Linked DNA regions of Homo sapiens: region 1 is linked to region 2. The links are contacts of gene promoters, found by promoter capture Hi-C in blood cells and fetal thymus (Javierre and others, 2016). All regions are on one chromosome and are shown on one strand. The core of a region is centred on a gene start or on the middle of the fragment in contact, and the rest is flanking DNA. Distances in the headings are between cores, read along the strand shown. Region 1 overlaps STON2 (stonin 2). Region 2 holds the start of SEL1L (SEL1L adaptor subunit of SYVN1 ubiquitin ligase).

Evidence for each region. The method cuts DNA at HindIII sites, captures the fragments that hold promoters and counts their contacts. A CHiCAGO score of 5 or more calls a contact.
Region 1: a contact is called between a fragment that was not itself captured here and the fragment with the promoter of SEL1L in region 2, in 1 of 17 cell types (monocytes). The highest score is 5.9, in monocytes.

What each region holds. Positions count from the first base shown.
Region 1 is chr14:81,297,230-81,300,361 of GRCh38, reverse strand. The region is part of intron 5 of STON2 (stonin 2); the gene reads left to right. Among named protein-coding and RNA genes, the nearest start is that of GTF2A1-AS1, 78 kb to the right of the region's middle. The HindIII fragment of the contact is 3,420 bases long and covers 32-3,132 here.
Region 2 is chr14:81,532,155-81,535,447 of GRCh38, reverse strand. SEL1L (SEL1L adaptor subunit of SYVN1 ubiquitin ligase) reads left to right here and starts at 1,595. Exons shown (of 21, transcript NM_005065.6): 1 at 1,595-1,773. The coding sequence starts at 1,704. RefSeq lists a silencer at 1,472-1,591 and an enhancer at 1,308-1,807. The HindIII fragment of the contact is 11,079 bases long and covers 1-3,293 here.

The DNA.
Region 1 (3,132 bases), core at 492-2,991, 240 kb after region 2:
AGATATTTTTCTATGTTTTCCTCTAGAAGCTTTATAGTTTTGGCTTTCTTGTAGATCTGTGATCCCTTTCAGATTAATTTTTAGACAGAGAGAGAGAAGGAAGGGTAAAGGTCTACTTTTTCTGTATGGATATCTAGTTGCTCCAGGATGTTTTATTGAGAACTTTTTTTCTTGAATTCCATGGCATCTTTGCCCAAACTCAAGTGACTTTACATGCGTGGGTCCACTTCTACACTCTTCATTTTGTTCCATTAACTTATTTATCTTTCCTATGAGATTGTCTTAATTACTGAAACTTTATAGTCAATCTTGAAATTTGGTAGTTTTGAGTCCTACAACATTTTTCTTCTTTGAGATTGTCTTGGTGATTGATAGGCTTTGATAGAAATTGACCAACTATCAAAAAAATTTTTTTAAGCCTGGGAGTTTTTATTGGAATCATATTGATTCTATAGATCAATTTAAAAAAAAAAAAAATTTTTTTTCCATCTTAACAATTTTGAGTTTTCAAATCCATGAACATGAAATCTCTCCATTTATTTAGGCCTTCTTTAACTTCTCTCAACAGTGAAGAGGCCTTACACATCTTTTATTAAGTTTACTTCTATGTAGTTGATATTTTTATGCTATAGTAAACAATATTTTTAGAGGTCTTATTTCCAGTTGACTTGTTACTAGTATTTTAATATATAATTGAGTTTTTAAAGAATGACTTTGTATCCTGAGGACTTGCTGTATTCAGTTTTACAATTATTTTTACTTTTGTTAAGAAGGTTGATAAAGGAAAAACTGAAAACAGCAACAGCCCAAAATGCTCATAAGTTAGCCACAGGGCTCAACCTCTTTCTTTTACTTTTTATTCCTTTTTCTTGCCTTGTTGCAATGCCTAAGGACTCCATTACAACGCTGAATAGGTGAGACTGGGAGGAACACTTTCAATATTTCACCATTGTGATGTTAGCTGAGGGTTTTCTTTTTGTATATGCCCTTTATCAGGTTGAGGAAGTTCCCTTCCATTCTTAGTATGGTGATAATAGTATTACTATTACAGTTAATGTAAGTTAAATTTTACCATACTTTTTCTACCTTTATTGAGATAGTCTCACATATATGTTTGTATAACACGTTAATTCTGTGCATGTATGGGTAACTTCTGCAATATTCCTGGTGGATGCAGAAGAGTTGCCTAAGACAAGCCCAGGCATGTGGTTTAAAGTGACCACCATGATTCTAGTACCAAATACAGTTTGGTGTCACTTGATCTGAGCCATGTGGCTAGAACTTATGAGTGTTTTGGGCTGTTGCTATTTTCAGTTTTTCCTTTATCAACCTTCTTAACAAAACAGATGTCTCTTATTTTGGTGGTAGAGGTGGGACTTTGGGTACTTTTTATGTCGTTCTCTTGTCTGTATTTTCTAAATTTCTTTAGTGACATGGATGAATTGTGTTTTAAAAAGTTTTAAAATTCTATATAATTAATTAGATTACAGATTAATACACTTCAAACACATTTCTACCAAGTCTTTCTAAAATTATATCCAACTCACCTTGCTTGGATATGGGTGTTTCTTAAATCTCTGAGAGCAACATATTCACAAACCATTTCGTGGTGGGTGACTAAGGATTTCTCTGTTGATCCTTTAATCATTTAATTTTAGAAGGTGCTCATTTTTTCATCTGTCCCAACTTCAGTTTCCTGGATGAAACTCCTAGCATGGTTCTGTTCAACATGCTTTTCTGTAGTTTCTCTTCCTTGGGAACTTACCAGAGCAGGAAAATAAACACCAACAGATTGTGTGTGTCATGACAGAGGTATATAGATCAGGGATTTCAGCCGCGCTTGGGAATTTAATGACTTGCAACAGATGGAGTCTGAGTCCAGGGTGACTTTGCTCAGGGGTAATTCTTAGTAAGTTTGGCTTTTAAATTCTGTGATTCCCCCCCCCCATCTGAAGCAGTTGAGGCTTTAGAGGCCTGGAGCTAGAGGAAGCCTCCCTCAGACTAGTCTGTGGATGACAGCCCTAGGATGTGGAATAGGGATTGGAGATAGACTGTTATTTCCAGCTGCTGTGCTTTGTTTTTGTGGAACAGGAAGTCATTATCTGGAGATTCACAATTTCTTGATAGCTCATTTCTCCTTCCTGGAAGGGCACCCGCATCTAGAATAGGCTTCATCGCTGGAATTATAGAGCCCCCACAAGGAGCTCTATTTGACTCCTTTTTTTCTTTCTAATTACAGATTCCTGATAGAAGGAATGTTTTCTCCTCTTTCTCAGTACTTAATGTGCATGGCAATAAATATCAGTTATTATTATTTTTCTTTTGAGACAGAGTTTTGCTCTTGTTGCCCAGGCTGGAGTGCAATGGCGCCATCTTGGCTCACCACAACCTCTGCCTCCCAGGTTCAAGCGATTCTCCTGCCTCAGCCTCCCGAGTAGCTGGGAGTACAGGCATGCGCCCCAAACCCATCTAATTTTGTATTTTTAGTAGAAATGGGGTTTCTCCATGTTGGTCAGGCTGGTCTCAAACTCCTGACCTCAGGTGATCTGCCCGTCTCGGCCTCCCGAAGTGCTGGGATTACAGGCGTGAGCCACTGTGCCCAGCTGGCCAGTTATTTTTATTACTTTCTATTGATTATTAAAGTTAGAAAGTTTTATACTATACGAAGCAAAACAAACCTCAAACCTCAAAATGAATGAATAAGTGCTCCTTGTCATTTTTTACCAGTAATAATGAAAATAATTTAAATCATATAGCATGCCATATTTTACAGTAGCATTCACATGTCTTATTTGGTCCTCACAACCATATTGTGGGGCATAGGAAATATCATTATCCTCCTTAAAAGTGAGGAAACAGACTCAGAAATTGAGAAATTTGCTCAAGATTGGACAGTTCTAACAATGTAGAGCTACAGTCCAAATGCTGCAGTATACCAGAGTGGTTAAGACTAAGGGTTGCCAACTCAGACCTCTTGGGTTCAGATCCTAGCTCTTCCTCTTACTAGCTTTGTAACTTTGGCCATGTCACCTAACCTCTGTGCCTTAGTGTCCCCCCTTACTAAAATAGAGGTAATGGAGACTTACCTCATACAGATGTCTCCTAGATCAAATGAGATCATTTTGGTATAGC
Region 2 (3,293 bases), core at 346-2,845:
CAGTGTTTAAGGAAAATTAATATGGCCATGATATGTGATTCAGGTTAAAGGGAGAATGATGTCAGTGAGTATGGCTGGAACTCAGGTGCATCATCCAGGTGAGAGAAAATGAAAGCCATTAGGGGAGTTTTCAGTGAGGAAGAGAACAGAGGTACATAATAAAATAAAACAATTTAAAAGTTACATAGTTTAAACTGATAGAACTTGATTATCAATAAGATGAAAAAGAAAGGAAAATATACCAGATTTTACTCTATGATTTATAATCAGAGGAACTCAGAGGGAACATTGTTAGTGACAGAAATGGTGATGTAGCTGAAAAGACAAGTTTTTGGAGGAGATAATTCTTTCCTTCATCTCCTCCGATGTGAATGAGAAACAGTGGTTGGTTTTTTACCATCTTCCTGAAAATAAAAGGCTGTATCTCAAAAAACAAAAAACAAAAAACAAAAAAAAAAAGGAAGGAAGACAAATGCCCAGAAGTGTTAAGACACATGGCCAGCAGAGACTTTTCCAAAGTCCTTCACTTGGCTGGACTAGGTTCTAGGCCTTAGAGCTGACTGTGGGTGGATGACAGGGAAAGCAGAATGACACGGTTTGAGAAAAGAAAGGGCAGGCACACCAAGTCACTGCTCTGCTACTCAGTTGGAACATGCCTGGATTTCGTGCTTATTACATAGAGTATTTCCGTGCCTGCGATGCAATCACTATCACCTCTACCTCCACACACGTGAACCTGGTCTCCTGACTTTAGTTAGGAAAGAAGAGAACAATGCAACTCACAAGAGGAGAAGGATGAGGACAAGTGTTTAAAATAATTTTTCAAAGCTGTTGGCACATTTTCTTTATGATTATTGTCTGGTGAACCTAGTGAAAATAAATACTGTATTGAGATAATCTGTGCCGAGCGGATTTATTTCCTTTTGTTTTGTCGGAGAAAGGAGGACAGGTACTGAGTTGCACCCTGGTTTCCGTACTTCACGGTACTGTTTTATCTAAGTTTTAAAAAACACCTCAAATTCAACTAGCTGTGGCATTTTTCTCAGTGCTCTTATCACTATGCCCAATTTAAATTTTTTAAATAAAACAGGAAAAGATGCTAAACACATTACAAGTTCTTAAAATTATTCCTTAATATTTATTTTGGGTCAATTTAAAAAGGCTTGTGAATCCATAGCCTTGAGTTAATATTTAGCCCAGGTGTTAGTTAAATTCTAACTTCAACAGTCACCCGCACTTGTAAATCTTGCCCTACGATGGACTACGTTTCCCAAGAGCACCCCCCGAGTTAATCACATGAAGCGCATTCTGGGAATTGTAGTCTCGGATGAGCCTCTTTCTCCCAGTCTTGGACTCACGCGCTGATTCCGGTTGAACCCAGGGGCTACCAATTAGCTGGGGCCATGTCCGTGAGTCGTGGTCCAACCGAGAAAGCTGGTGTGGGAGCTTCGTACAATGATTGGCCAATGAATGACCCCCGGGGCGGAGCAATGGGGGTGGGCGGGGAGACCATGGTGATTGGACCAGAAGCCCGCGACGGCGGGCGGGGATTGGCTGCGCGCTGGGTCAGGGAAGCCTGGGAAGGGGCGGAGGAAGGAGACTAGAGCAGGAAGAGCAGCGGCGAGGCGGCGGTGGTGGCTGAGTCCGTGGTGGCAGAGGCGAAGGCGACAGCTCTAGGGGTTGGCACCGGCCCCGAGAGGAGGATGCGGGTCCGGATAGGGCTGACGCTGCTGCTGTGTGCGGTGCTGCTGAGCTTGGCCTCGGCGTCCTCGGGTCAGTATCCGCCCCCTCGGGCTGAAGGCCCAGAGCCTCCGCCCCCCAGCCTCTACAGCCGGCGGGGCCGTGGGGACTCCAGGCTCGGGACCCCGTTCTCCCTGGGCACATCTCGCACTGGGCTGTCACTCGCTCTTTGGCTTTGCTTGGCCTGCGCCAAAGGGGCTATTTAGGAAGGTGGAGTGGGGTGGAAAAAGAAGGGGCGGTCACCCTGCCCACACCTCTCTCCCACGTAACAAACTTTGCGCGACTCTTCTCACGAACGCGGAATTGACTCCAAAGGAATGAATCCTGATACAGGAGCCCGAGTGGAGCTTCCTCGACCCTGGGGTAGAGGAAGGGTCTGGTCTAGAACTCTGGGCTTGGGAATTGTAAGTTAAATAATTGACAAACCTGGAGCTGTCACTTTGGGGCAGAGGAGGATCCATCCAGACCAGGATGTTGACAGTAGTTTGCTTAACACCTGAGATGGTCCCTGGTCTGTCTGTTTAAAAACGAAGACTTTTGATCTCATCGTAGCCACTTTTTACTTTTTTGAAACCTTCCTGAGAAAGCGGTGACCTGTCACAGTGTTTCTGAGTTGCCCCATGTTTGTTGACAGTCATTTTATGATGTTTGGGAAAATCTTGGTTCTTATAAGATGCGTTTTATATAGATACAGAAATTTGTGTGCTTTTGAATTGATTTTCCAGTTAGCTAATGTTTATTCTGGTTCTGCTTTTTTCCCCCTTTTTTAATGTTTTAATCTGCCTACATTTGAAAATTTCCATTTTGAGAGTGTTCATGAAAACTTCGTGTTTCTAAGTGTTGATAAATAAAAATTAGTACAGTAAAACTTTGGAATTTTAATCAGTTTCAGTTAACAGGACAGGTGTTCTGTGGCTTGACGTTTTGGGGGGACAACACGGAGTATAAATGTCAGCTTTTTCTTTTTTTAATAAATGTCAGCTTTTTTTTAACAGAAAATTTCCCAGATGGTTATCTGAATCCCCAAATTACCTGTCCTAGTTGTAAATCAATGCCATAACGTCATTCTGCTTCTAAAATAAGAGGCTTAAACCTAAATTCTATCCATGATGTGGTTTGAGATACCATTTCAAAAGCACCAACCCTATGCTAATTACTTTACTGCCAACATCATTCTTTCAGGTCCACTCCCCTCCCTCCAGTAGTAGTGATGGTTTGAGTTAATGACCAGATCTTTAGACTATACTTAACTCTCGAAGCACTTTTAGCAGTTATTTAATATTTGATCAAAAAGCATGAAATGAAGCTGTTGAGCTTAATGAGTAGAGTACCTGCTGGACCATGGACCTCCTGCATCAGAATTCCTCTTATGGGTTTGTTAAACATTGGGTTTTAGGTCTGGAACAGCTCAGGTATACATAGATTAACAATCTCCATGAGGGATTCTTCACACTAAAGAGAACTACAGTAATGAAAGAGCACGGTGTGTATCCCTCTGAATTTAATTGGCAGAGTTTAAAGAAAATTAAAGCATAGGAATTGTGCTGTCTGTC